5 separate regions of the Homo sapiens genome follow, and all the other regions are linked to region 3. Evidence: promoter capture Hi-C in 16 types of primary human blood cells and fetal thymus (Javierre and others, 2016). All regions are on one chromosome and are shown on one strand. The core of a region is centred on a gene start or on the middle of the fragment in contact, and the rest is flanking DNA. Distances in the headings are between cores, read along the strand shown.

Evidence for each region. Contacts are between HindIII fragments. The CHiCAGO score rates a contact against its expected background, and 5 or more counts as called.
Region 1: a fragment that was not itself captured here is called in contact with the fragment with the promoter of ARLN in region 3 in 1 of 17 cell types (M0 macrophages); the score reaches 8.1 in M0 macrophages.
Region 2: a contact is called between a fragment that was not itself captured here and the fragment with the promoter of ARLN in region 3, in 5 of 17 cell types (M0 macrophages, M1 macrophages, monocytes and 2 more). The highest score is 9.4, in M0 macrophages.
Region 4: a fragment that was not itself captured here is called in contact with the fragment with the promoter of ARLN in region 3 in 13 of 17 cell types (naive CD4 T cells, total CD4 T cells, monocytes and 10 more); the score reaches 10.4 in naive CD4 T cells.
Region 5: a fragment that was not itself captured here is called in contact with the fragment with the promoter of ARLN in region 3 in 1 of 17 cell types (monocytes); the score reaches 5.3 in monocytes.

Annotation. Positions count from the first base shown.
Region 1 is chr4:118,965,145-118,971,050 of GRCh38, reverse strand. All of the region lies in intron 1 of SYNPO2 (synaptopodin 2), which reads right to left. All of the region lies in intron 2 of SYNPO2-AS1 (SYNPO2 antisense RNA 1), which reads left to right. Among named protein-coding and RNA genes, the nearest start is that of SYNPO2-AS1, 17 kb to the left of the region's middle. RefSeq lists an enhancer at 2,935-2,984. The HindIII fragment of the contact is 5,041 bases long and covers 915-5,906 here.
Region 2 is chr4:118,985,505-118,991,758 of GRCh38, reverse strand. The region is part of intron 1 of SYNPO2 (synaptopodin 2); the gene reads right to left. Among named protein-coding and RNA genes, the nearest start is that of SYNPO2-AS1, 3.9 kb to the right of the region's middle. The HindIII fragment of the contact is 4,207 bases long and covers 2,397-6,254 here.
Region 3 is chr4:119,296,994-119,303,225 of GRCh38, reverse strand. ARLN (allregulin) reads left to right here and starts at 2,581. Exons shown (of 2, transcript NM_001001701.4): 1 at 2,581-2,890; 2 at 4,447-6,232. The coding sequence starts at 2,691. The coding sequence ends at 4,447. RefSeq lists enhancers at 2,608-2,837, 2,938-2,987. The HindIII fragment of the contact is 14,870 bases long and covers 1-6,232 here.
Region 4 is chr4:119,041,111-119,046,996 of GRCh38, reverse strand. The region is part of intron 4 of SYNPO2 (synaptopodin 2); the gene reads right to left. Among named protein-coding and RNA genes, the nearest start is that of SYNPO2-AS1, 59 kb to the right of the region's middle. The HindIII fragment of the contact is 4,059 bases long and covers 2,209-5,886 here.
Region 5 is chr4:118,947,113-118,953,119 of GRCh38, reverse strand. The region is part of intron 1 of SYNPO2 (synaptopodin 2); the gene reads right to left. Among named protein-coding and RNA genes, the nearest start is that of SYNPO2-AS1, 35 kb to the left of the region's middle. The HindIII fragment of the contact is 914 bases long and covers 3,165-4,078 here.

The DNA of each region.
Region 1 (5,906 bases), core at 2,186-4,685, 330 kb after region 3:
CTCAGTCCCAAAGTGACCCCAGCTTTTTGCCACCCCAGAGAGTGTTGGTCTAACAACAAGCCTGTCTAAGGAGACAAAGTATCATTGGGGGTCAAAACAAATGAAAAGATTCTGTGTCCTCTGGAACTCATGTTGACATTTCTCTGAGAAAAACTAAAGTGATCTTTTTGATTGATTACTTTATTCATTCATTTATTGACAAGGAGTTATAAAGCACCCACCGTGTTCTAGTCCTCTTCTAAGGACTTCTTCTCTGCATGTGCAAATGCTTCTGAGATGAAGGGAACCTTTAGAAAGCCTATGTGGTCATAGGCCAAATCCACCCACCTTGGTTCTAGAGTGTTTGTAGCTTTCTCTATTTTGGCAGTAATTGGATATAGCAAGACCAGTTTTCTACTACAGTCCCTTTATAATAATGAAATGAGGTTATCTGCTATGGGAAGTATATTTATCTTTCTATCATATACAGACAAATTTGTAAATAATATGTGGGGTGGTTAAGGTAAAAGCATTCATGCATCTTATCCAAGGGAGGTATCAAGTTATTACAGGGTATATAGTAAAAAAATTGGAGGGATACAAACTTATTGTTTTATTTAGTGAATATTAAAGAGTACTAAGGGACAGAGTTATTCACTAGTGACTGTGTCATAGATCTTGATCAGAAACAATCAAACTTCTGGGGCTCTTGATTGGCACATATGATAGCAAGACCTTTGGAAATTTCTCAATAAAACATTTATTTATCTATATTTTGTTCTGAATAAAATGTGAGCACCTTAGGGTAGAAGTGTAGTTTATTCATCTACATGCTTATGTCTGGTACATGGTAGGCATTTGACAGATAATTGTTAAGAGAATGAAATCTGTTGATAATTTATAATTCAGGAATAAAACAGCTTTCAGATAAAGCTTTTGCTAGGTGGAAAGTGAGTACAAATTACAAGTACATTTCCAAGAAGGCTCATATATGTCGATTATTAATTTTTGCTATCATTATTAAACAGAAGTCCTAGACAATGAACAGAAATTTTACCTAATGCTGTTAATTAATAATAGAAAAATATAATTGAAACAATGAAAGTGCTCAATATTTTCCTTATGCTAATCATCTAATAGTTAAATGCAAACAATAGAACATTCCCATAATGAAATTCTATTACACTTCAGTCTACTTTTTAAAGAGGCCAGGTTCTCATCTCAAATCATTTTTGTTGGCATTTCTACTAATTTTTCATGTTTTAAACAATAACTGATATTTTACCAAAAAAAAAAAAAACCTTGTAATCAACTTCCAAAATAACAGCTATTTTCATATATTAGTGACCTTATAGAAAGAACGCCCAGAACTTAATAAAACCCCAGAAGACTTTAGAAAGTCCTGGTTCACAGGAACACAGTGCTTCTTTGGTTTCAGGCCATTGGCTACCTCATTGTTGGGATTTTCCAAGTCAGATAGTATTACACTTGGAATATGCCAGTGAACATTAATAATCATGACCATAAATGAAAAGTTGGCCTTCTCCAATGGGATATAAAAGACTGGCGCTCCACACCTCCTCAGAGCAGCAGAGGGCAGTGAAAGCACTGGTAATGGATAATATAAACCCAGTATTACCATCGGGAGAGAAACGTACTTTTTTACAAATACATTTTCCATTTTAAACGAACACCATGCATGTAAGAGTTTGGAAATATATTTTTAGTCTCTAATGCAGTTTTGGAGCCATATACAACTTTTACAAAGTGCAATGTAATTTCTATGTAGCATTTCTGGGACTTAGAGTTCAATTTAATATATCAGAAAAATGTTTTAGGGAGTAACACTACCTTGTAAACTTGGTCCAAAACTTAGCTGTACAGTGTAGGATATCATAAAACAGTGGTAACCCACCAGAGACAGAGTGTTGTGTTTATGTGAGTATACAATTTAGGAGCTGCAAGGGCCCCTTGAGGTTAACTAATGATTCGTGTCCCTCCTTTTAACTGACCTGGAAAGACTCCTGGACTTGCTCAACTACATAGAGGCTAAGACAGTGGTCTCCTCACTCCTCTCGTTCTGTGGATTTTCTCGTTCTGTTTTGTTTTCGTTTTTGTTTTGCCACGCTATATTTCATAATACTTAGCAGTTAGATTTATAATCTCTGACGTTTTAGTCAGGGTTCAAAGGCCAAGGAATTTCCACCTGGAAAATGCAGGAGGGCTCAAAAATCAGTCTGAGCTTGCTTCTGCAAAAATTTGTTTTTAACTTTGAAAAGAGAGGCCTCCACAAGGGAGTTATGCCATTCATTTGAAATTTTAAAAATTGCTCTACCCATTGCAAGTCAGTATATACTTAAAGTTCTTTAAAAAGAAAAAAGACCCATCACTCCTCCACCAGGGACTCCCAGAAGACACTGCTCTTTTAACCTCTGCAAACCCACACAAATCCAGTCCCCTTTCCTTCTTAGATTGCCCCATCACTGTATCATGGTCAGAAATTTTACTAAATGGCAAGGCAAATGCCTATGGGTGCTTTCTTAGCTGTGACCTTTCGAAGTCTGGGCTCTAATTTAGAAAATCTGTCACTCACTTTTCCTACTGAGTTGGGAGAGTGGACTGGAGCTCAGGAGTGGCTGAGAAAATGGTTAAATGGTTAATGGTGAAACAGTAACCTCTGGGAGAAAAGACATCTCTGTGGAGCCAGGACATTGCTGTAACAGTTACATTCAAACATTTCGTCTCCAGACTTTGTTGATTTGCCTGGAGCCCATGAGGTCTGATTGGCATTAGCAAGTGCAAGGGCCTCCAGTGACATTCTCCTGACCCTGCAGCAACTTCCTTCTTTCAAGAACACACACTAAGCCTCAGGCCAGGACCTCTTGCTTTCATTTTCACTAACTGGCTTCTCAGCCTGCTCTCTTTGTTCTACATCTTGTGGTTTTTCAGCAAGTCAAGGGCCAGGCTGAAATCCCAGAGCAAATTCTTCCAAGGCCAAACAAGGAAATGCTCAGCAAGTCTTTGGAAACCAATAACCAAGAGCACTAAGCTATGTTATTTGAAAGTTAATACATTGAATGTCACATATTTTTTCACCATAGTTAGACATTTTATAGAATAGCTGTATGTCTTCATTATATGACATTCTCTAATAAAGTTTAAAGTTGCATGGATAGGTCCATGTTTTAAGTTGACTTTTTTTTTTTTTTTTGGTATAAAGATTTTTCAAATCAAGAAGAATTAAAAAGCCAAATCAAGGAAAACACCTTCTGGAGAGAATCTGGTGTTACAAACTTTAGTTAAATGCTGTATATCTTATGATTTCTTAAGGAGATGACTCATACCAAAGGGAATCATCCAAGACATGCCAAAAGCATAGGGGAAAACATGGAACCTTTTTGTCCAGAAACTATCAGGGATTGTGCTATACCCGTTTCCCCAAGTGAGGCAAATGGTTCTCTGGAAATTACCATGAATGGGGCTTCCCCACTGCACTTTTAGTTGAGTTGGCCAAAGAAGCTGCAGAGCATCAGGCCAAGGACCAAGAGGAGCTGTGGTTTTTGTGTGATGAAATGTGCTACCATCCAGCAAGGATTAGGCTCTGAGCACAACCTGCTAGTTTGGAAACCTGAAGCCAGGATTTTCAGAACGCTGGCTCTTAAGCATAACCCAAACAACAAAGAGAAGTTGTTTGTTGGAAAACTCAGTCTCAGGGAATGTCAGAGCTAAAAGGTCAATTGTAGAGTTATCAGGTGGCTCGACGAAAATCATATTTACGTGGTTCCTCCGCAGACTTTTATTTCCTATAGGGAGACAGAGGTAGAGGAAAGAAAGAAGAGGGTGGGAGAGAAAAAAGAAAATGGGCAGTATAGAGTGGGAGCTAAAATGGGCTTGAAATTAACTCAGTAGCTGAGTTCAACCACTGAAACCTTTGTTTTCTGAAATATTAGAAGGGAATAATAGTACACTCCTGTGTTATAAGGTTGTTATAAGAATTCATAGAATTAATCTTTGTAAACTATTTAGTGCCTGTCTGGAACATATCCATTATGCTCAATAATGGTTAACTATTATTACTGTCATTTTAAGTAACTGGATAAAGAGGAAAAAGATGTACTTACTGTGAGGTACAGTTCCTTAAAAACTACCATGTTATTAACTAATCATTCAGAGCTTTGTAAGGAAGGACCTGCTGACCTGCTCTTCAAGTACATGAGTAGATTCAGATACTTTAAAAACTTCATCAATCTGTTCAACCTACATTAGTAAAATCTATACAATCTGGGACAAACTAGGCCACCATTTGTTCAGGTAATACCCAATACAGGAGGAACTAGGGGAGGGGGGTCTTTCACTTGCCAAGCCCTGTAAAACAGTAGCTTTGGGTTATATCATCCCAGAAGTATGTGTGTGTATATATATGTTATATATATGATACATAGCTATATAATTTAAATTTTTATAAATGCTTCATATGAACTAGCAGCAGCCCTGGGGTCCAATCCTAAATCCCACAGCAATTTAGGATCTTGACCAAACCTTCTGCCATACCCTAGCTTTCCTTCTTCAGGCAAGATTATATAGAAGAAGTCCTCCCTTGGGGTTTACAAGGGTAAGTGGGGGAGCTGTGCTCCAGGGTTTCTGGGAAAGACAAACCAACTCAAACAAGCCTATTCTATCTATCGTCTCTACCCAGAAGCTAAAATGGGGAGGCAGACTGCCTTTTCTTTCTCCCTAGAGAGCTCATACCTCAATTCTGCTTTAAAGGTATTGCTTGAGCATTGAGGTATAGGAGCCAGAGGGAGCGATGATGAATGCCTTCTCAAATAAACCACTTTTTCTATTTCCCGTTTCTTTCTATCCACTCAAATGAATGGTTGAGAATTTTGCTGCCAACTTTTGCCCGTGAGTCCCTCCGATCCACCTAGATTAATCCTGGTTGTCCTATCAGACTTAGCTTTCCATAATCCACAATAGTCTCCCATCCCAGAATGAGGTATGGGCTTATTTATTTATTTAGACAGGGTCTCACCGTGTCACCCAGGCTGGAGTGCAGTGGTGCAATTATGGCTCACAGCAACTTCAACCTCCTGGGCTCAAGCAATCCTCCCACCTCAGTCTCCATCCAGCTAATTTTTTTTAAAAAAAATCTTGTAGTGACAGGGCCTCATATTTTGCCCAGTCGGGTCTTGAACTCCTGGGCTCAAGTGATCCTCCCGTCTCAGCCTCCCAAAGTGCTGAGATTACAGATGTGAGCCACCATACCCAGCCCCCTCTACTTTTTGATATCATCTTGTACGTACTTCCCAGAATGTAAATCCATGAGGACAGGACCTGTGCCATCTTGTACACGGTTTTATTTCCAGCACCGATAATAGTGCCTGATACATAGCAGACATCCAGTAAATATTGTCAAATGACTGAATAAATGAATCATAGTGCAAGTAAAGAAGGAGAAAAAACAATACTGTGTAACCATAATTGCCTTCTATGGAGGCTAGACAGTAGATCCTGGAACATAAAAGTCTCCTTGCCCAAGCACCAAGATGGATTTAGGTATGAAAAAAGTGGGCCTGGATTTGAATTTGGGGGATGCATGAAAAGAACAGAATTACTCTGTACAACAGACAGCAAGAGCATCCTGGAGCTGGAGCTTGAAGGAGGGTAGAATGCAGTGCAGGAGGGATGATGTGAGGAGTAGAACCGGGAGATGGATGAGAAGATTGGCAGGCATATGGCTGCTGTGTGGGGTAAAGCAGACAGTGAGAAGGCCCTGGTTGGGGTGGGGGGGTGCTGGCAAATGGACTCATAACAGGAATGTGCCCTCTGTCATTTGAAGTTTATTGCTGTGCTCTCCCATGACCCAAAAACTCTCAGTTCAAGTTTTTGCAATATATTATCAGCTTGGTTTTTATGATTGCTTTGTG
Region 2 (6,254 bases), core at 3,251-5,750, 310 kb after region 3:
CCCAGCCCCTTTCCCTCTAAGTACAATTGTTAGAACTACAGGAGTCTCTACTTGGCTCTGCCCCAAGCACCATTCAGGCATCTCTGCAAAAGTCAGTGCCTAAGGAGCTTCAATAGGCAACATATACCTCTTTCTTCTTTCTCTTCTTCTCCCCCACCCCTGCTCTGTCTCCCAAAGTCTAATCACTTCAATCTTAGACTTTGATAGAAGGCTCAACTTTGATGGAAACTTCTCTTGAAGAGCATTCCACTGGTAGTTATAATGAGCAGTAGGTCATGCAGTTCCTTTCCTTAATTAAAAAAACAAAAACAGGCCGGGTGCGGTGGCTCATGCCTGTAATCCCAACACTTTGGGAGGCTGAGGCGGGTGGATCACCTGAGGTCAGGAGTTCAAGACCAGCCTGTCCAACATGGCGAAACCCTGTCTCTACTAAAAATACAAAAATTAGCCAGGTGCGGTGGTGCGTGCCTGTAATCGCAGCTACTCAGGAGGCTGAGGCAGGAGAATTGCTTGAACCTGGGAAGCAGAGGTTGCAGTGAGTCAAGATGGCCCCACTACACTCCAGCCTGGGTGACAGAGCAAGACTCCGTCTCAAAAAATAATAAAAAATAAATAAAAAGTGGTCACGCACTAAAAAGAGTCATTTAATTAGGCCAGAACTAGGCCCGGGAAGTTGAATTTAAAGTCCTGGAACTGATGGTATTAGCTGCACAATTTTATGTTTAAACCCAAAGGAGTTGACTTGGAAGGGCCTGTTGGCCCAGTTCAGGCTGCATGTGGAGCTGCTTTCACCTGGTGCTCTTGCCGGAAGCCCCTGAATGCATTTGAGGGTTACAATTATCCAGCTTAGGCCGGGCATGGTGGCTCACACCTGTAATCCCAGCACTTTGGGAGGCCGAGGCGGGCAGATAACTTGAGGTCAGGAAAACAGAGACCAGCCTGGGCAACATGGTAAAACCCCATCTCTACTAAGAATACAAAAATTAGTGGGGTATGGTGGCACGCACCTGTAGTCCCAGCTACTCAGGAGGCTGAGGCACGAGCATCGCTTGAACCCGGGAGGCAGAGATTGCAGTTAGCTGAGATTGCGCCACTGCACTCCTGCCTGGGCGACCGAGCGAGATTCTGTCTCAAAAACAAACAAACAAACAAAAACCAATTATCCAGCTTAGCCTCCCTGCTCAGAATTGCTGGGTCTATTTGTTTGGTCTGGTCTGTCACTCTGTCTGGAAGGTAAGATCCATGAGAACAAGGACCATGTCTGTTTTGTTCACCATCTTATCCCCAGCATCTGGCACAATATTTGGTGTATAATAGTGCTCTGTAAACATCTGCGGAATAAATAATTCAATAAGGGACTTATTGATTCTTCAGGGTCAAGCAAAGATGTATTTCCTGGGAGAAGTCTCTCCTCCTTTTCTCAGGCAGCCATTGCTCTTGCCTCTGAGCAACCACAGCACTGCACGTTTCTTTGTGAGAGAAAGGAATAGAACATTTCCTGAGGGTCCATCCTGTGCACCATGTGAGCTGTCAGTTCTATGTGTTTCTCCCTTCATTCTTTCAATAATCCAATATGATAGGTATTATTACCCATACTTGCAGAGGAGAAAACAGGCTAAAAAAAAATCCAAGTCATACAGCCAATAATAGATCACAAAACCTGTATGCAAAGCCAGCCCCATTTCCGTCTTCTCATTAAATCACTCTGCCATATGGGATTATGCTTGATGTTTTAATGTATCTGTTTACAAATATGTCTCACCTTTAGGGGCAGAGGCCATGTATATTCATCTCTGTATTCATGAAAGATTTAACATCTGAATTAGAGAGTACATGAATGAGTGAAGTGGATCGGTCTACTGATGGACGGGGGTCTTTGCAGCCTCAGGGCTTACTCTCAGGGACTCTTGGTGTTGTCTCCTTGGAGAGCTTCTGTCTGTGTCCCTGCGTGAACACAAGTTAGGCCTCCTCCACCAAGTCCCTAACTCTTAGTACATCCACTTATTTCTTCTGTCTGTGCCACAAGATTCCCAGTTACTGTGTGCATTTGGCTTATGTTTGCTTCACAGGATATTTCTATCATGATGAATCAATGATATTCCATGGAAGCATGACTATATGACACATTCCTTTATTACTCAGAACACAAACTGTTTTTTTACTTGCAGCTGAAGTCACTGCTAGCACTGACTGTCAGTCAATAAAACGAGTCCGTGACTCTGTCAGATTCTTTTGGGAAATCAAAAATAGCATGCTCTCTGTCTTCAGATGCCCTCAGGCTTGCTAGGGAGATATGATCACACATGAAACAATTAGAGAATGGTGCAAACAAGTTCAGAATCATATGCCAATTTGAGTCACAGTTTCAGGCTCTGACTCTCACTCAGTCTTAAGCTTGCCAAAGCCTTAGCTATTCCCAGTTACACTCCAGAAACCTCTTCACATGCTGTTTACTCCCCCAGAAGATGAACACCTCCTCTCAAGCTATGGGCACAACATCCCACAGGCATAATCATGAGCCAGGGCCTGATGCTTTCAAATGTATTCAGGGTCTTCTGGCAAGGGCAGCAGGCTAAAGCAGCTGAGTGCAGCCGGAACCAAGCTCAGATGCTTTCCCAAGTCAACTGCCCTGTGTTTAAACATTAAAGTATGCAGTTAAGATCCCTAGTTCCAGGCCTTTAAATTCAATTTCCAAAGCCTAGCTCTGGCCTAATTCAATGACTCTTGTTTTATGTGTGACCACCTTGTTCTTTTTTTGTTGTTTTAACTGAGGAAGGGAACTGTAAGACCTGCTTGGTCACCATAAGTACCAGTTGAGTGTTCTTCCAGAGAAGTTTTCATCAAAGTTGAGCCTTCTGTCAAGATGTGGAGACCCTCAAGTCTGAAGCGATTCGATGACTTTGGGGTGGGGGAAGGTGCATGTTTCCTGTGGAGGCTCCTTGGCCACCAACCTTCGCAGAGATGCCGGCACTGTGCTTGGGCAAAGCCAAGTGTGAGGCTCCTGTAGCTCTCACAGCTGTGCTTACAGAGAAAAGGGCACACAGGATGTCTGGACCTGAAACTCCTCATCATAATGTCAATTGAATTCCTCCCAAAATGAAAGCTGTGGCCATTTATTAATAAAAATAAAAGCCCACATTTTCACAAATGTTTTTCAGAATAACTCGTAGGTAAAGAAACTCCTTGGAGCTTTTCTAAAGGAAATGCTGGATGTACTTTCCAAAACTTCAGTTGGAAACTAAACAGAATCCAAATGTCCTGTCTTGTAGTTGAAAGCAAGTACCATTTTTAGAGTTAGGTTTTGCTCAACCTGCTGTATAAGGTTGTGTTAGGAACCTCTGCTTTTAGGGAAGTTTCCTGCTGTTCCCTGGGGCAGAACTGTTTCATTTCACATTTATTTGCTTCTCCATTAACACCTTTTTCCCATCCCCAGGAAAAAAAAAAAACACTAAATTATTGGTTTTCATAAAAACATGACAGTGTACAATATTAAAACCTAAAAACCAAACCAAAATAGAACAAATACAACAAGCTACACAGGTGTACATTCACATAAATTAATGTTAGAAGTACTGGCAAATAATAGTTTATGCAATATTTGCTCTAGCTATTCAAATAAACAGGACTAAAATAACTTTCCTGCTCATGAAATCAAGTGTGAAAATTGAGGCAGTACATGTGCAGATTAGCAAAAACATGTTGTTATGTTTGAATTTGAGCTCAAATTCTCCCAACCAATAGCTCTGTGGCTTTGGGAAAAATAATGATAATTTTAATATTTATTGAGAATTATTACCTGCCAGACTCTGAACTAAAGTACTTCACATGGTACAGAATATTTCTGAGTCCCTTTCCTTTTCTGTAAGGTTATAATGATTATACACATCTTATATGTTATGAAGAATATATAAAAGGTATGTTAAAGACCTAGACATAGAGTAGGTGATTATAAAAATGGATGTTTTAAAAACAAAAATGGAGCAGAGTAATAACACTGCTAATATACTTAAATAGCAATACAATTCTCATTCTACTTTCAGATGCATCAGTACTAAGTGAAGAAAATAATCTAGAAGCAGTAATTCGAGTTCACATTAGGCTTTTTTTTTTTTTTTCATGTGGGCTGCAGTGCAGAGGTATGATCTTTCCTCACTGCAGCCTCAACCTCCAGGGCTCAAGTGATCCTCCCAAATAGCCTCCCAAATATCTGGGACCACAGGCACTCACCACCACACCCAGGGAACTTTGTTTTATTTTTTGTCGATCAGCCTGTGTTGCCCATGCTGATCTCAAACTTCTGGGCTCAAGCAATCCTCCTGCCTCAGCCTTCCAAAGTGCTGGGATTTAGAGGCGTGAGCCACCATGCCTGGCCCATATTAGGCATTTTAATAAGTGAAGAGAGTAAAATTAAGAATAACTAATGCAACATTATCTGCATCAAAGTGAAATTCTAAAGAATGAAAAGCATCAAATTTCTCCTTGATGTTCCTTAGCTGGGACATTCGATGTTATGAGATAAAATAAATTTCACTGTAGTCTTAGAAGAAAGTTATTAGACTAGTTCTTCTTTTATTCTACCTTTATTAACTTGTTCTGTAAATTTGAGGAGTCAATTAACATTTTCCTGTGTCCATTTAGATATCTAAAAATAACTCATTAGAGGTTTTATTTATTTGCAGTTTCACCAAGAACAATGATAAGGATAATGGGATTTAAAGAAAACTTTGACTTAGCATAATTCAGCAAAACTGTGTTGGTTTATTGAGTGAGACATATAACACATTTGCAGTGCCTATGAATGGACAATGGTGATCCACTAGAATTTTCTGTTCCATTTTGTGATGTCTATAGGGAAGTTGTTGGAGGCTTTAGGGGCCATATCAATAGCACACTGAATAACAGTCTATTTCCTGGTTCCTCTGACCCAGCCAGGGCATTTATTTAATGGTGAAATGAGATGGAAAAAGGAAGAGTATGTACATCATGCATCCTGAAATAGAGGATGGAACAATGTGGAAGTAAAATTATTAGCTAAAATCCCTCTCAGAAAAGGTCTATGCTCCCTGCGGCCAGTCGTGGTTTGGACTAGTTTAAAATACAGCTGGGTAGTCTAAATCATAGACTAAATCCTAGACTAGATATAGTGGAAATGGCCACATGTGCCTATTATCATCTCTCAAACTTGGGATGGGCCAGTGATGTTCTCATAGATACCTTTGGTATCACCAATGCCAATTGAGATGAAGGTCGAGTTTCGGGGCTACTTTGAAAACCACATGAAATTTGGTTTGTAGTACTCTGAGTGACCTAACCCAAAGAACATTCTTGGCATAGAAATTCAAGTTTGAATTGGCATTTTTAAACATGTCGGACTTATTTTACTATCTCTGGCTCATAAAAGAGTAAGTTGGCAGAAAAAAGCAAGTCTTAACTGGATTACTGAGTTGTACATTCATGGTTACAGTTTCCACTGTGACTATTAGAAAATAAATGAAAATGTAAGTATAGAAAATGTAGCCTTTTGCAAGAGGGCATCCTATGGGCTGATTACTTTTAGAAAGGTTTGGGGACCATAGGGTGGGTTTAAATATTAATTGTAACCTATAAAAGGATTTAAAATTGTGAGAACAAAGGTCATTTATGCTGGGGGTTGGGGATTTTACATGTATATGGATTGGCAGAGGGGAAGAAGGTTTCTTTCATAGAGTCACATCCTTGTCCACAGAATTTCTAATTTTAATTCAATGGGAGTGCAAGGAAAACCTAACAGAGTGAGAGGTACAACATCAAGCTAAGATTGCTGAAGAGTTGTTCACATCGGAGGGCTAAATAGCTGGCCCCCGTATCCTGCTCCTCTTAACTTCATTAGGGCCTACAGAATAATGTAGTAAATGGTGGTGTTCACATGAAATATAGCCCAGCAACCTGGTGTGACCACAAAGGCAGCCAACTGTGGATGACATGGTACAGAATTAGATCCTCGATCAGGGATACTGTAAGGACACTGAACCAAGTTCTGTGCAGGGCCCAGCCCAGCCAGCAGATGTTAAACAAGACACTTCTAGATGCCTAATTGGCATTGATTAAACACTTGTTAATTGATTGACTTGCTGATTGACACAGTGTCACTGAGAATGCCCAGTTGGATGACAAGGCTTTTGACATTAACTCTATTAATATGTCAGTGGCTTAGGCAAGTCTCAATGTTTTCTTGACACAGGATCCTCCTGTCTACAACACAGAGGATAGTCACT
Region 3 (6,232 bases), core at 1,332-3,831:
AAGAGAACAATAACAACAAAATGAATAAATAAAATGACCCAGAAGATGGAGAAATAACCTGTGGTACCAATCAACAGGGTTGTTGCTAGGACAGGTACTCAACTTGAAAAGGAGGAAAAGACAAAGTTAAGATGAGAAAGAATAATTTAAGATAAACACATATATTTCCAGATGAAAATTACAGTAACCAAATTCTCCACTGTTGGAGAGGTTATTCTATAAAATTAATTTAATTCCTAGGATGATCATGAGGATGCTTTATCACATGGATATACTGGCTTGAGAGCTGCATACGAAAAATTTGCATTATCCCTTAGGTTAAAGCAAAATTCATCATCATCTCCCTCCTGAAAACTTATTGCACTTGAAGTTCAGAAGATCTGTAACGTCTTCTTAAAAACACTTAGCTGTCTTTGGCCTGATGGTTATAGCATTTTCATACACCACCTTCTCCACCCCAGCTCAATCAGATTAATTGTGCTGACAGAATTATGGAAGTGTTGGATCATGGTTGCAGTGCAATGATTCAATCTGTAGTCCCTGGTGCATATTTTTCAGTTGAACATGTGAAGTAGAAAGTTCAAGGTGGTTGGACAAGTGCCGAGGTATTGCATGACTGACAGTGAACCTGGATTTCAGTACAGTACTTTTTAAAATTTAAATTGCTTTGATAATGGCAAATGCCAACTGAGCAAGGTGGCTCATGCCTGTAATCCCAGTACTTTGGGAAGTCGAGGCAGAAGGATCACTTGAGGCCAGTAGTTCAAAATCAGCCATAACACACTCTAAACTCATTTCTGTAATGTGGAATAATCAACAATCAGTGGGACTTTTACAAGGGTAAAGTCGGAAATAGAATCTTTCAACTGAATTTAGTTTAAATAACCCCTCCTTATTTGCACTAGTTGCTCTTCCAAGTCTGGCAGACGTTCCTGACTCTAGAACAGATCATACTGTCAACATCCCCTCATGATGAGCATGTGACTCTGGGCCAAAGACAAGTTTAAAACCATTTCAAGACCTGTTCAGTTTATGTCATGCTTCTTCAACACTAATAATCTCAATAATTTTTTATCAATCCTACTTCAATAACTAGGAGTAATTGATCCTACCTTGTCAGCGAGAAGAATGCTTCCATCTCTGGTAGAGGCAATTGTTTATTTGCCTTTCCTAATTTTTGTAAAGATTCAATGCCACTTAAGCCCAGGGTCTTTTTGTCTACTACCATCAGACAATCTGTATTACAGCACACAATCTAATTAATTCTCAGGTAATGGCCCTCTCATCCCAGAATCTACAAAGCATTTTTCTTGAAAGGTCGTATACTATCTTTGTCTCTAAAACCTGGCAATTGATTTGGAGGCAAATTGGAGCAAGGTTAGGAAGCTATGGAACAGCTTTAAGAGTGCTGGATTTGGAGTTAATTTTAGGCTTTATAATTTTTTTAGTAACCTTAGACAATTCACTCCTTTTGTGTCTCATTTCCTAATTCTATAAGATGGAGTACTGCCCCTTCAAAGAGGTTTTACGACGATTTAATGACTTTGTAAAAACACAACTACAGTCTTATCTCCATTTACTATGCACCAAGAGAACCACTTATATGTCTGGGTGCCCGTTATTTTCTGAACAATTCAGGAATCATAATGTGACAAGAAAGAGAATATTTGAAATTGGACCCACGAGGTAAAATCCAGGCAGTATAGGTCATTTTCTTCCTGCTAGCATTCTGTTCTTGCTGAGGCTCACACTCAAAGTCAAATAACCTTTGGGTTATTCTTCCCACCCCCATTTCCCCCCAGATGGAGTCTCGCTCTGTTGCCCAGGCTGGAGTGCAATAGTGGCACGATCTCAGCTCACTGCAACCTCCGCCTCCCGGGTTCAAGCGATTCTCCTGCCTCAGCCTCCCGAGTAACTGGGATTACAGGCGCCTGCCACCACGCCCGGCTAATTTTTGGATTTTTTTTTTTTTTTTTTTTTTTTTAGTAGAGACGGGATTTCAGCATGTTGGCCAGGCTGGTCTCGAACTCCTTACCTCAGGTGATCCGCCCGCCTCGGCCTCTCAAAGTGCTGGGATTACAGGGGGGCGCGGCCAGGTTATTCTTAAACCCACTCCCTTGAAGTACCTGCAAAATGCTCACGTGCTGCTCTCTGGCCCGTTTGGAAACTCAGTCCCGTGAGTAGGACGTCCACCTCATTGGTGGTGTTTAAATATTAAGTGTCAAATGCTAGAGACAGTACAAAACCCACCAGAGGGGGCCTTCCTAACACGTTGGCATAAGGATCCAAACGGAATACGGGGATAGGAGAGGTGACCTCGTGCAGTTTCAGGGAGGAGTCCATCACCTGACTGGACTGGGCCTTTCAGGGGGACGAGAACGTATTTCTTCCAACGAAACCTGAATAACCAGCTATCTGCCTGGGACGCCGCGAGGCAGAAGTAGGCGGGCCCATTGACTTAGTGTCAAGGCGGAGGCCGCGCTTCATGCCAGCGGTCACGGAGGCAGCGGAAAGCCGAGCCAGGCGCCTGCGCGCTGGGAAGAGTAGGTTCAGAGTGCATTCCGGAACCCGGGGCGCGGCGCACTGCGCAGGCGGCCGGACTCCGCTCAGTTTCCGGTGCGGCGAACACCAAAGTCCGGGAACTTAAGCATTTTCGGTTTCTAGGGTTGTTACGAAGCTGCAGGAGCGAGATGGAGGTGGACGCACCGGGTGTTGATGGTCGAGATGGTCTCCGGGAGCGGCGAGGCTTTAGCGAGGGAGGGAGGCAGAACTTCGATGTGAGGCCTCAGTCTGGGGCAAATGGGCTTCCCAAACACTCCTACTGGTTGGACCTCTGGCTTTTCATCCTTTTCGATGTGGTGGTGTTTCTCTTTGTGTATTTTTTGCCATGGTGAGTATCTCGAATGCAAAATTGGGGTGGTAAGGAGCTTAGAGATCATTTGCTCGCTTTTGGGCGGGGAGGGGACTGAATTCCAGAGAGTTTATATATGTCCAAGATCACACAGCTGGTGAGTGGCGCAGTCGGGTGGGTGGGGGAGAAGGACTAGGAGTAAAATGTCCTTCTTTAGCACGTCCGTGGGAGTCTCCAAAGAAGTGTGGAGAAAACTTGGCGTCATATTTTCTCATGATTTGGAATGAAACCAGCTAGGCTTGAGTTCCTGCAGCACCATGAAGCGACCGGAGAAGTTATTTCGCCTTTTGGAGCTTTATTTTTTCATCTGCCATTTGGGACCATTAGTAACCCAGGTCATAGGGGTGTAGTGAAGATTGAGATCGTAGTGATTTGCATGTTGCCTGGCAGTAGTAAGTGCTCAACGAAAGCTATTTTTACTATACAGCTGTTTAACCATGAGCAGACCACGCAGCTGTCTCAAACTAAACATGTCCAAAACTGAACTCTTAACAGCTTCTTACCCAAATTTACTTGCCTTGCAGCGTTACCATTTCAGTAAACGCCAACTTTATCCACCGTTACCTCCCAGAAACCTGAGACACTTTGCCCTTTTCTTACACACATCCACATATCCTAAAACACCAAGTTACAAAATTCTGTAGAGTTTACTTGTAAAACCCATGCTCTCCATTTTCATCGCCACTCGCTCTGAAAAGACAATTCTGGCAGAGGGTAAAGGAAGGGAACTTAAGAGAATAGGGCAGGAGGAAGCAGACACCAAATGGAGATGGTGTTAAGAGACAAGCTAAGGAGAAGCAGTGAGATGAAACAGGGCTCCTATGGGAGAAGAGCAGTGTAGCCCATCTAGACAGCTCTCCTGGACTTTGGAGTTGATTGTTCACTCACTGTTAACTCCTTAGTCACCATGCCTATGAGTTACTTCTGAAATTCTCACTTCTTGATAGGCAGTCACTTCTTCTACACCCCCAACCCCCATCCTATATTTTCACCAAGATTTGGGTGTCTTAAGCCTCACTGTCTCATTTCTTGGATGGTGTAGTAAGTTAGAGAAGACAGAGAGGGCCAGGCACAGTGGCTCACGCCTGTAGTCCCAGCTACTTGGGAAGCTGAAATAGGAGGATTGCTTGAGCTGGGGAGGTCGAGGCTTCAGTGAGCTGTGAACGTGCCACTATACTCCAGTCTGGGAGACAAAGCAAACCCTGTCTCAAAAAAAGGGGTGGCAGGGGAGCGAGAGGGATTAATGGGAGGATGGCAAAAGGGATAGGGATTTCTATAAAATTCTCTGTCAAGCCATTTGTAAAGGGAGAGTTTTACTCTCCCTCCCTGTTTTGGTAGAGACTGATAATCTCAAATACAGTGGGTTTTGTGTGTGTGTGTGTTTTTATGACCTGAACTTTCAGCTCTGGATAGAAAATAGAGGCCTTACAAGAAATGTTCTAGGCTTTTCTTTTTATCAATATGTAAATAGGCATAAAGTGTTAAAAACTGGGAAGATAAAGCACATATTGCTGACAAATACTTGCTTTTTACAGACTTGTTCGCTGATATCTAAATTAAGAAGTTGGTTCTTGAGTGAATTCTGAAAATGGCTACAAACTTCTTGAATAAAGAAGACAGGACTCTCAATAGAAGAATTTCACATCTCCAAGGGACCCTTCCTTTCATTTTACACTTTGTTACTAATTTGCAGAACTCTATTAATTGGGTAGGATTTCACCCATTCCTAGCTAAGTTCTTAAAATTAAACCCTTTGGTTCGTGTTTAAAAACTTTCAAACATCTGATGGCTTTACAGGGGCTGAATATAAAAGCATTTGTACTTAAAGGTCTTGTGTATTCATTAAGAAATATAGTAATGTCTTTTAATGTTTTAAGAGTTGATCAGGGTTTACTATGATGCAAGTAATAGGATGATTAATAAGGGAAGGTTTTTATGAATTCAAAAGTCAATTATTCAAAAGCAGGGAAAGATTTTGAGAGAGGGAACAAAGTATTCTTAGATTGCGTAGAAGCTGCTAGGTTCCAGTTTTAATTTTTAGGTTTAGTTGGACTCTGTTATGAAAAGATAGGTTATGGGTGGGCGACAGGTTGATACAGTCTTAGAAAAAGCAGGTAATATCAAAGTATTGGAAAGCTAGCATGCATGCCCTCTTACCTGGGTATCTTCCCCCTTTTTTCCTTTTAAACTCTTGAGCCTCCTATAACGAAGGATTATGTGTTTCAAACCTATTTTTTTTTTACTGTTTCATTAAGTGTGCTTGTGCCCAAAATATTTACTTGTATAATATCTGTAACTTGCTTAAATACTTCAGCAAAGTCAGCATATTTACTCATTCAACAAATATTTGAGCCAGGCATTATTTTAGACACAGCAGTGAACAAAACAAAAAGGCATTCTTGCCTTCATGGAGCTTACATTCTTATTGTTATTTAAATCTAAATGTTATAAAACAAGAATTTATATTCTAGGGTTGATCAGCTAGTATTTAATCAAAAAGGCCACACTCCCATAGCAGCTACTCTAAGCTGTAGTAGCTAATAAAAAATATTAATGTTGGCCGGGCACAGTGGCTCACGCCTATAATCCCAGCACTTTGGGAGGCCAAGGGTGGTAGATCACTTGAGGTCAAGAGTTGTGACACCAGCCTGGCCAACCTGGTGAAACCCTATCTCTATTAAAAAATACAAAAAAATACAAAAAAATTAGCTGGGCATGTTGGCATGCACCTGTAGTCCCAGCTATTTGGGAGGCTGAGGCACGAGAATTGCTTGAATCCGGGAGGTGGAGGTTGCAGTGAGCCAAGATGGGGCCACTGCACTCTAACGTGGGCAACAGAGACCCTGTCTCAAAAAGAAAATATTCCTGTTAGCCCTAAAGGCTTTACATGAGGAATGGTAGAAGTGGTCTTTTGTTTAAATTAGTTGCATTCAGCATATATGAATTGTCTTAAATATTTTGGGGATACTCCCCCGCCTTTTAAACAGGGCATAAGATCTGGTAAACTCTCTGTATATCTTCCTACCTTTCAAAATCGTTCTTAGGGTTAGTCAAGTCTGGAATATAATTGCTGACTATAAAGTTAGCAATTATGCTTTTAAGGTGTTGTCACATCAACCTAAAGAGAACCATCTATGGAAGGTATGGTTGAAACATCTGTAGGAACACAGAACTGGGATTTCACTGAGTTTACCAAATCAACTGTGTGAACTGTTTCTGCACTGCTTGCTAATGGTTTCATCTAATAAATGTTTACTTATATAGCTGAGTTTGGTTTTATTCTAACAAATTACCTGGTGGTGTGATTGTGAGGTGATTAAC
Region 4 (5,886 bases), core at 2,989-5,488, 260 kb after region 3:
GTATGTAGCATATCATCTTGGTTCTGTTACTCACCAGTCATCTTAGATTAACTTTTAGATTAAATTTTCTCTTCCAAAACAACAGACTTTTAAACAAAAAGTTTTACTTTCTGCTTCTAGGAAATCTGTTTGTGAGAAAGCGTAAGGCTTGTAAATGACAATGGAGGCCAGCATCTTATATTGGAAGGAATGGAAACTTGGATGTCACATTGACCTGAAAGTTCTGCCTTTGTCTTTTGTTATCCACGCAATTCAACTTCTCCCAGTCTTATTTTCCTTAATTGTAAGATGGGAGTATTGCTGGCTACAGTTTCAAGATTATGGGCAGAGTAAAGATTGTGTTTATAAATGGAATGCCATGTAGCTCAACAAATGGTGATTATTTTTGTTATTGTGGGAAGAGACTGTGTGGCCCTAAAGGTGTCAGAGACCTGGCAGGACCTTTTGTTCAAGAGGCAACTGCATAGGCAGGCTGCTGACCCAGGACAAAAATAGGAGGGAGACTTGCCTTTGAAGTGGCATTAGCAGTGCACGCCTCCGAGGCTGCTGTGCCAACCCCGGCTGCCCTCCTGTCATCAGAATGCAGGCAGCTGGGTTGGCCAGAAACATTGCCACTGACCTCATCTTCCTGCTAGGTCTAAGTGGGCCAAAATATACACTTCTTGATTTTTTTTAAACCTTCTGTTATAAAAGAATAAAAGTAATGATACACAGTTTAAGGTCGAGAAGACCAACATGAAGGAGGAATGTGTGCATATACTTTTGTTGTCTCTTTCATCTTTGAAGCAATGATAATAATAACTAAAATGTACAAAACTTTTACTATGTACTAGCTACAGTTCTAAACACTGTATTTGTTACCTCAATTAATCCTCTCAACAACCTTATGGCCTCCATTTTGCAAATAAGGAAAGTGAGGCATGTAAATTAGGTAATTTACCCTAATATTACCCTAAATTGGTAATTTTCCCTATACAAGCACATACTGGCTTGTATAGGGAAGTTGGAGAAGTAAAGCTATAGGTAATAAAATTTTATTTAAATAATGTATGTTAAGGCATTAACTCTGTTAACAGAAAAAACTACTATACCAGCAATTTTTACCCTCTTACCTTTCTTTATTCTCAAAAAAGAAGTATGTCACTCTACAAGTTAGAGCCTGTGACAATACTTGTATTAATATAGACTGTGTTCTATTTAAGTAGTTGGGATTGCTGTTTTAATTTTTTATAATTCTTGAGGAACAGCCTTATTTAAGTTTATTTTCATAAAAGTCTAGTTTAATTGGTTCAAACATAAAAAATAAATGTTAAACACATTTCAAAATATTTTCTGAAGTTCTCTCTTTCCTCAAAAGATTTAAATAGTAAACGTCATTCATTTAGATTCCCACGGTAGAAAAAGTGAATAGTATATATAAAAAGTTCAGACTTCGTCAGTTTCTATGGAGAAACAAGTAATTTTCATAATAAACAAAGAATGTTGATCTTGTTTAAAATAAACAATCTTTTGACCTTGTGGGAGTTTTTTGGGTTTTTGTTTTTTTGAGACAGGGTCTTGCTCTATCACCCCGGCTAGAGAGCAGTGGTGTTATCATAGCTCATTGCAGCCTTAACCTCCCGGGCTCAAGACATCCTCTCACCTCAGGCTCTCAAGTTGCTTCCAGTGAGCCACTGCATCCAGCATGTGGGAAGTTTTTGTAGAGAAAAATGTTGGTACCTGGCACATGGTAAGCACTTAATTTATTATGAGAGTAATGATTATCAGTACAGAAAACTAACATGTTTTGTATTGTATTCAGTTATAATTATGTGACTGCTATTTGAAGTGGAGCTAATAGCCCTTAAGCAAAATTATTTCCCAATTAAAATGCCTTTTGCTTTTTTAGAGAAAAATCTTATCAGTTATGATGTTAACAACAAGGATTCTTAAGAAATGTGTGCATACCATGTAACAAACTTGATTTGGCCTCTGCACAATAACATTCCCAAAACTTCCCACTGATGTGTTTAGAAGCATCCTCTGTCACGACTTCTAATTACATTAAAAATCTCTGACAATTCAAAGCGAGTTAATGGCAATGACGAAGACACAGCAACTATACAGTGTGTGACAACATAATTTCACAAAGATGTGGAGAATACAGGATGAGGAAAATGACTGAGTTGGCCTTTGTAACTGCTTTTCTGTCCACTATGTTTCTAAGCTTATTAAATGGAACCTTTGATTAATATCCTGGGCCCTGGGGAAATTGTTTAACCTACTGTTCTTTGAGAAATGTAAGATTTACTCCCTATCATATTTATGTTTTCCTGGTCAAAAACATGACCCCAGAGTGAGGTTTAAAATTAGGAATCTTAATCACTTGAACTTGGGAGGTGGAGGTTGCAGTGAGCTGAGATCACGCCACTGCACTCCAGCCTGGGCGACAGAGTGAGACTCCATCTCAAAAATAAAATAAATAAAAATAAAATTAGGAATCATAAATCCAGCTCTTCATCAGGAAAGGCATCAACAGCTTGTTTTCTTAAGCACAGAATAGAAAAAAATTATGCTCAATTCCTTTATCACATCTCTGGTCCAAGTGATAAGTTTTATTTAATGATATCTTTCCTGTTTGAGGGAATTTACACAATAATTTCATGTATGTCATTTCATTTTAGAGACATGGAGATGCCATAAACTATGTGGGATTTTCAAATGTGTGATTGTTTTGCTGGAGGAGAAACATGGGTTAAAGAGAAGTATACAATGATGGTCACGATCATGTGCTTTTCAAATACAAATGGGAAACTTAGGAAACATCTTTTATCAGAAGTATCCCAGTTACATTTCTTCAGAATAAGCAGCATTTACTTCCATTGAAAACACTAATTCCAGATATAGTTGTAGTCTGTCATTAATCACTGAAAGGATGTCTCGGGAGTTATTGGAATGTGTGTCTACTTATCAGACATACGAAATTAGAGATCAAATACTTAATTTTGCCCATGGCTATAGCTGCTATTACAGCTGGTTTTTATTTGCATAGCTTTTTTTTTTTTTTTTTTTTTTTTTTTGAGACGGAGTCTGTCTCTGTCACCCAGGCTGGACTGCAGCAGTACGATATGGGCTCACTGCAACCTCTGCTCCCCAGGTTCAAGTAATTCTCCTGCCTCACCCTGCCGGGTACCTGGGATTACAGGCATGTGCCACCACGCCCAGCTAATTTTTGTGTTTTTAATAGAGGTGGGGTTTCACCATGTCGACCAGGCTGGTCTTAAACTCCTGACCTCAAGTGATCCACCCACCTCAGCTTCCCAAAGTGCTGGGATTACAGGCGTGAGCCACTGCGCCTGGCCGGCATAGCTTTCTTAATGCATTCATGAAGCTGCAATGTATAATTGTCTTGAGATAACATTGTATGTTAATACTACAGCAAATTTTGCCATGTAGACCACACATTTATTAAAAGGATCTCATTCTTTAGTATTCTCCTGACTTCTCCCCATCCCAAAGTTTGCCTTCATTTTGATTTGATGTTAGGTATTTATTGACTATTACAATTGTTAAACAATTTTTTCACTTTTAGTATTAATTCATGCAAATGCATTGATGAATTTACAAAAATATTATGAATTAGCTAAAATACTACATCAGCCCTCTTAACTGCTATGGATATGTAATCTTAGCCTAAGATAAAAAGTAACTTCTGGGGAGACTAAAATGGATAGGCCCTCATCAATACACATTTGAGAGAAAGAGAGGAAAAGAGAGATCCTTTAGTAGTATGTGTGTCTAAATTCTTAAGCAATTATCCAAAACAAAAACAAAAAACAAAACAAAAAAAAACATGGCAGTAAGCCGAGATGGTGCCACTGCACTCTAGCCTGGGCGACAGAGCGAGACTCTGTCTAAAAACAAAACAAAACAAAACAAAAACAAAAGAAAAAAAACAACCAACCAAACAAACAAAATACAATGAACAGATCAGTCATTCATTGACCACATGGCATCAAACCTGTGCAGTGACCTAGGCTCCAGCATTAACCCATCATTTATAATATCCAGCTCTCCCATTAGTCTTTTCTCCTCCCACTGGTAAATGTACAAACATATATTTCACATCACAGAACTTCCAACACGTCACCATCTTTTCTGTTTTAGAAATAAACTTTAGTGCCTCAAAGTTTTGAAAACAATGTGCTTGTTAGGATCAAAGCCGTCACCAAGTGGGTCTGCCTGTTTCTTTGTTCCGTACACTCTTGTAACATATAAGCAGCCTCTGACTGATTTTGCATTTTGTTGACATACTACTCTATTTGCCAAGATTAATGTTAAAGTTAAACAAAAATATTGGGCTCTTTCCCTATGATGCATAAAGTGCATGAACTTCCTTTTTCTTTTGAAAATTTTATAATCGTATTTATTTTCATTTTAAAAAGCTAATAAGCATTCAAAGTGCTTCAAAATTTTCCATTAGCCTAGATCCCAAAATAAGAATGTTTAGATTACTGCCAGATAGATTTAAGCTAGTTATTAGTAAGAATATTTTGGATTTGGAGATAACAGAGTCTAGGGCCCAACAGCCAAGGGAAGTCATACAATCTTTTTCCCCAGAGATAAGAAAAAATAGCCAAGGAAATTCAATCTCTTTTCTAGATAATAAAATTGTATCATTCTATTCTATCCCTAGAAATATTTATACTCATTCTTGATTAGAAGCAGGGGGTCAGATAAAAATCACGTCTCAAGGCCCCCTTTAGTCTTTTGTCTTTTTTAAAAAAAGAATATTCAAAGCAAATTGTAATGCAACGAGCTTTAGAATGGCTGCCTGTGAAGCACTGAGAGGGAAGGAGAGTTTGCTGCCATCTCCTGGACGTTTGAAATAAAATCGGCAAGATGAGTGCTTCAGCGCCTGCCTGTTCCTTTTAGACGGGGCACTAAGACTGTGGAAGCAGGTGCAGTTTACAAGTCTGGCTGTCCCTGACTGGATAAACAGGAAAACTATTTATGGGTTTTAAAGAATAAAGTTGATTTAAGTGGTTTGCATGTTAGAAAAGTGTTATTCAAAGTGTAGTTCACAGCCCATTAGCATCAGAATCACCTGGGTTGTATGTTACAAAAACAAATTCCTAGGTCCCACCCAAACCTAGTAAATCAGAATCTCTAAGGTGGGGCTATCTCTAAGGTGGGGAAATCTTAATTTTACACTAGGAACAAAAAGTGGAAAGCTATATGTTACACTACGAAGGGAATAGTTTGCTCATACTAAAGTGCTGTATATAAAGGAAATCATATTAGTTCATTCAATGTAAAATTAAAATTAAAAGTTCTAAGTAATATATTTAGTGTTGCTGTTTATTTCAGTAATACCACCCACAATGAGTTGTGACATTTCAGTGAGTATTTCATAATGCAGAATTCAAAATCTAGCCCATATTGGACTTACGTGAAGAATTATGATCTGCACCATTTGTTAAACAGTAATAAGTAATCCAACCACAACCAACAGACTCTGAGTGTGAATTAAAAAAAAAACTCCAAACCAAAGATCTAATTGTGGAAGGATTGCAATGAAACCTTAAATTAGTACATTATATTAGTTCAACCAATTCCTTAGAGATTCTTAGCTCTAGAAAATGGTTTTGTGAACATTTCTTTATCAGTGTTAGATATGCTAGGTGAAAAAAGAACAAAGGGGTTTTTAGTACAGTAAGAGGCCTAGTTTTGCTTTATTTTTAAATGTAATTAAATGGCACAAAAGGAAAGCAAGACTAAATCAATTCAATTGCATTTGAAACAAAAGCTATTCTGGATTCAGATAACATTTTCAGAATCTCAGCTTGTTTTGATTTTTTATCTTCAAGATGAGTCTTGACTTCTGCTTCTGACTCAGAAGGATTC
Region 5 (6,007 bases), core at 2,372-4,871, 350 kb after region 3:
CTTCAATCAAGTGAAGTTCCAAGGTCACTTCTGTTAGTTACATTGAGGGAACTATAATCTTGTTTTCTTTCTTTTCACATAAAATTCTCCTACAGAAAGGCAGAAAGACATATTTAAAGGAAAGAATTTGCAGGATTCAGGGTTAGAATCCTGACTCCACTACTCTGATTCTGTATAATTTTTTAAAAATTATCTCTCTGACCTTCAGTTTTCTCCTTTAGAAAATTGGTATCATAATAATTCCTTCCGAGGTTGTTATACTATTAGAAATAAAGTTTTGTAAAGCACCAGCACACTGTCTGATGCATAAAGCTCTTAATAAACAATATATATTGGTATCATTGCTGAGAGAGCAAATCCTCATTTTTGAACAAATGTGCTAAATTGTTCTATCTAGAATGATGAATGAAGTACCTACTATCCAATGTGATTAACTAAAATACCAACAATAACAATTGAAATAGTAAAATATAATATTCATGTTTGCAGTTTGGTATTACATTATTTCTGATATTTTTACCAATTTTACCTGTCTTACTAGAATGAAATTTGAGAATTGTATATAAAATTAATTAGAGTTAATTCAAAATACATAATTACAAGTAACTTGAATTCATACAGAACATCTGCTTTTCTTGTGAATTAAAAAGTTTACACATGGCACATATATACATATGTAACAAACCTGCACATTGTGCACATGTACCCTAAAACTTAAAGTATAATAATAATAAAATAAAATTTTAAAAAAAGTTTACTCTTAGATATGGAAAAAAATAAAAAAGAAGTGATTTTACTAAATTTCATTATCAGAAGAAGGAACAATCCTCTATGTGGTAAATGAAGTCTTGATTAATTTAACTATCTCTTTCCATTGAAAATACCTATTGCTGTGGATAGACAGATTGCATACATCGTCTGTAATTGATCTTCACAATAATCTTCAAAGTAGTGCAAGGGGATTTCCAGTCCCTGCTTGTAATTATTCCAGAGCTGGGAGGTTGGGGACTCATGCACTTCTCTCATAACCCTTCACTCACTCTTCAAGACAGAGGATAATTGTCTTGCCTGATTGTTGAGACTAACAGAAGGGACTGAGAAAGCCTAGCTCAGGTCAGTCCCTTTTAAGACTCCTTACTTGGGTTGTATTCTCAGCTATATTTGGAAGAGTGGGCCCTCTCCTTTGCCTGAGACTGGAAGGAGAAGTTTAATTCTGGGATGAAATATTAAAAAGTTCATTGTGGTTGCACATCTTAGCCACATTCTCAAATTCAGCTTTAGCTTCTTAAAAAAGTTTATATTTTAATCTTCAACTATTTCCTACGTTTTTCAAATTATTTCTAGCCTCCAGAGTGGTATTACAACATGAATTTTATTATGAAAAATTCACGTTTGGAAAGGTAACATGCTAGTACTAAATACCTGGGTTAGATTTTCAGCCATGGCCTATATTACTATAAAATTTAGATTTTTTTGATACAATGTTGTATTCATTTTGTTGAGCAGTAAAAATAACAACTACAACAATAACAAAACTCTTCATACTTTTTGAAACTACAGATTTTTGCCCTTGGGTCCCAACAAACTTGCTGTTTCTTCATGTACTGGCATTGTCTGGTGCTATAGTCTGAATGTCCTCCAAAATTCATGTGTCAAAACTTAATTGCCAGTGTGATTGTATTAAGAGGTGGGGCCTTTAGGCAGTGACTAAGTCATGAGGACAGAGCTCTCATGAATGGGATAAGTGACCTTATATAAGGGCTAGAGGGGACCAGTTCTCCCTTTCCATCCCATATGAGGACACAGCATTCTCCCCCTCCAGAGGATGCAGCAACAAGGCAGCATCTTGGAAGCAGAGAAGGGGCCCTCCCCAGACAGATACCTGCTGGCACCTTGATCTTGGACTTCATAGCCTCCAGAACCGTGGTATTTTTAGCAGCACAGACAAACTAAGATCTGTGGTAATAGAAAGTATCTAAACTCCCATCAGTTACACACTGTCTGTATAGACCAAGCACACAGAGAAATAAGACAGGAGATATAAATAGCAAGACCACAATGTCAATAAAATCCTGCCTCCATCTGCCTCCTCCCAACAAGTTTCACCATTTAGGATAGGTAATTTCTCTTGACTTATGTATACAATGGCATGAAGACTTCAATATCTTTACACTGGTTGTGTAGAAATGGACCAGATTTCATTGCACCCAGTTATATTTCTTCATGACATTTGGATAGCTTTCTCCTTTTTCACAACCAATCGAGTTTATGGATCTGAATTTCTGAGACTCAACCTTTTATTAACTATAAAACCCTGTTTTAACAATATTATTTTCTGTATTCTTATGCTCTGGCATGTGGGACCTCACTAACCAAGGAGAGACTGGCCTTCCAAGGCTTAGGTGATTCCTAGAGATAGTCCACTTGCCTGTGAGCACATTTTCATAAGTAAGCCAACCAACCCTGAGTCCACATTCCCACTGCCTCCTCTACCTGGCTCTGACACTCCAAGAAGCAATATTCCTCTGTCCTAGTCACCCTAGCACCAGGTACCAGACAGTTGGGGACCATTCTTATAACCCAGAACCTGCCAAAATTATTTAAATTATCAAATCCTAAGCCTATTCAGCTACTCCCCTTGCTTGGCGCATTCCTTCCTGTAGAAACCACAATACAGGCTCTTGCCCATGCCTTCTGCTCTCTGCTTCTGCTTCTGACTGACCCTGGTGTTTCCCTGGGCTGTCCTGTGTGGCCCTACCCTTGGGAACTGTGAGTAGCAAACTATCTTTTCAATGGTAATTATCTCCTGATCTGTTGGCCTCGCTATAACTGAACAAAATAAAATCCCAGATACATTTTAAAACAAACCTATATCCTTGCAAAAGATTATATGCAACCATTGGTATTTAAATATACTTGCCTTTTGTGGGTGTTATACACTAAAACTTATTACAAATTAATGAAATGATGATTTTCTAAAATTCTTTAGAAAAATAGTATTATTGAGAATGGAATGTGGCAGTTTTCTATTGTGATTTCTTTTAACAGAATGTCATCTTTTTCAAACTTGGTTAAATGCATCTGACAATTATTTAACGTGAAAGCAATTTAAAGCTAAAGCTACCTAGTGGCCTCATAGCTTCAAATGGAATTTTTTGTAAGCTTCATAAAGACAGTAACTTTCATTATAAATCATTTTGAAAATAGAGTTGAAACAAAAATCAAGTAAAACTAATTATATTTGTGATTTGTATTCTGAAAAAAAAGTGCAGGGTAATGACGATCGACTTGATAGCATGTGTAGAAGCCCCTAGTTCAGTGATTGACATGTAATAGAATATTTCATTTTATTTTATTTTATTTTATTTTTTGAGACAGAGTCTTGCTCTGTCGCCCAGGCTGGAGTGCAGTGGCTTGATCTGGGCTCACTGCAACCTCCACTTCCTGGGTTCAAGCGACTCTCCTGCCTCAGCCTCCCGAGTAGCTGGGATTATAGGCATGTGTCATTACACCCAGCTAATTTTTGTTTTTTTTTTTTTTTAGTAGAGACAGGTTTCACCATGTTGGCCAGGCTGGTCTCGAACTCCTGACCTCAAGTGATCTGCCCATCTGGGCTTCCCAAATTGCTGGGATTATAGGAGTGAACCACCACACTTGGCTGTAACATAATTTAAAGATGCTATTTTTCTCTACCAATACCTGCAAGAGCATTCAACTAGATTTGCATTTTGGAAGGAAGTTGGACTACCAAAAGCCATAGCAGCAATTTCATAGGGTTAGGGTAGTGTTTTTCAACTTTTTTTCATTATTACTTCCTAGGGAGTCTTTTTAGACTTTTGTTTTTCTAATAATCTCCTGCCACCACCCCACCATGAAATGCAAATGCTTCGGATCTGCCGTATAACTGTTTATCTATTGTGGCTCTCTAGAGGTCCACGAACCATTGTCATTCCTACAATTTTTTCACCACCACCACATCAACTTTCATGCTCCTGGGGGGACATATCACTCCCATTGACAAAGCATCCTTAGGCTTGCCAAAGGTTCTTGGCTACACATTAGAACTACCTGGAAAGCTTTTAAATTCCAAGGCCCTACTCAGAGATTTTTATTTGTCTGCAAGGAAACCCAGGCTTTCTTATTCTAAAACCCTCCAGTGGGTAGATTAAGGAAGATCCTTCACCACTGAGCACAGAGGAGCAACTCTAACTGCAGTGAATGCTTTAAGCCCATGCAAGTTAACTAAGTATATAATTGGGGTATTTGTCCCCTCCAAATCTCATATTGAAATTTAATCCCCAACTGGAGGTGGGGCCTAGTGGGAGGTGTCTGGATCATGGGAACGAATCACTCATGAATGTCTTGGTGCCTTCCCCACAGTCATGAGTCAGTTCTTGCTCTATTAGTTCACATAAGAGCTGGTTGTTTAAAAGAGTGTGACACCTCTTTCCTCTCTCTTTTTCCTTCGCAATTGATGCCTGCTCCCCTTCCCCTTCCACCGTGTTTGAAAGCTTCCTGAGGTCCTCACCAGAAGCAGATGCTGGTGCCACACTTCCTGTACAGCCTGCAGAACTGTGAGCCAAATAAAAACTCTTTTCTTTATAAATTATCCAGCCTCAGGTATTCCTTTATAGCAACATAAAAGAAAGACACCAAATAAAATGAAATGCTGGGTTTGGAATTTACCTTCATTAAGTAACGTAAATTGATAGGCATTGATTCTTTCACACTACAATAAAAACTTGTGTATTTATATGGATTCCCCATGTAGACTCAGAAAATGGTTGTTGAGTGTCTGCTTCTTTTCTTCCTTAAGAAAATGGACATTTTAGTCCTACTGCTGAGTTTTACCCTGTACTTGGTTAATTGGTTCTTCATTCTGTTCCTATGAACCAAAATGTTAACAAATCGGATCTTATTAGTGCAATCAACTAATTAAAATTTTTCATCTTTTGAAAACCACTATTGGAAATATGAAATCAGACAGAGCGCAACACCAAACATTTTGAACCTCTAGTTACAAAAATTCTAGAGAGGGAAAAAAGTGTTTTTTTTATTCTTTTACTTACTAACTAACCAAATTAACTAACCAAAAAAGTTTCCTTTTGGACCATTATGGACATTTAATATGATTTCTGCTTTCCTGGAAATATCAAACATTAATCAGATCCCCAAAACTAAAGTGGCATTAAGCAATGAGAGTCATTTGGACAATACTAATGGTATCCAGTCTACTCATTATTATTTAAGTCATGTCAATTTTGAGCTACATTGTCCTAAAAGTTAATATGTAGGCATATATTACTTATATGTACATACACATATTATATAGACACAAACACACACACACAGTGCTATGAAAGCATATGCCAGAATTAAACTGCCACATTTTCTTAAGTTGTTCTCATTGTTGATTTAATTTTACATATGGTTCGAAACAGCCTTTTAACAAGAGAATCAATTCTAAAGCAGAAGTGTGATGATTACTTCTCCTGGGCTAGGTTTTATTAATATTATACCAATTCTGCCCCGACAGGGAGAGGAAGAGGGCTGAAGATGACAGAGGTTAAACAGCAGAGTTCAAGGAAATAAACTTATTGCAGGTGGCTTTAATCAAACTTAAGAGGACTGGAACTGAAGGTCATTCTCCTCCTCTGCACTTCAAGAGGAAATACTGCTTGAAATAAGGCTCAGGCTGTTGACATGAACATACTTAGAAAATAATATTGTATGGGAATCCAGGCATAGAAACAAAGTGCTGTGTCCCATTTGCTATATAGCTTAAGGGAAAGGCTGTGCCACATTACGTGTCTCATTGCCCATAAAAGGTAGTATTACTCTGCTCACAACCTATTGTTCGAATATGCATTGTGCCTGATGTAAACCATTTCCCTATCAGGCTGTAAAAGAGATAGTACAGAGATGACAGAGAAGTGTATCATGAGAAATTCTGAACTTCACAGAATTCCATATGCTTTAAGATGAATTCAACTGACTTAAAGCCAAG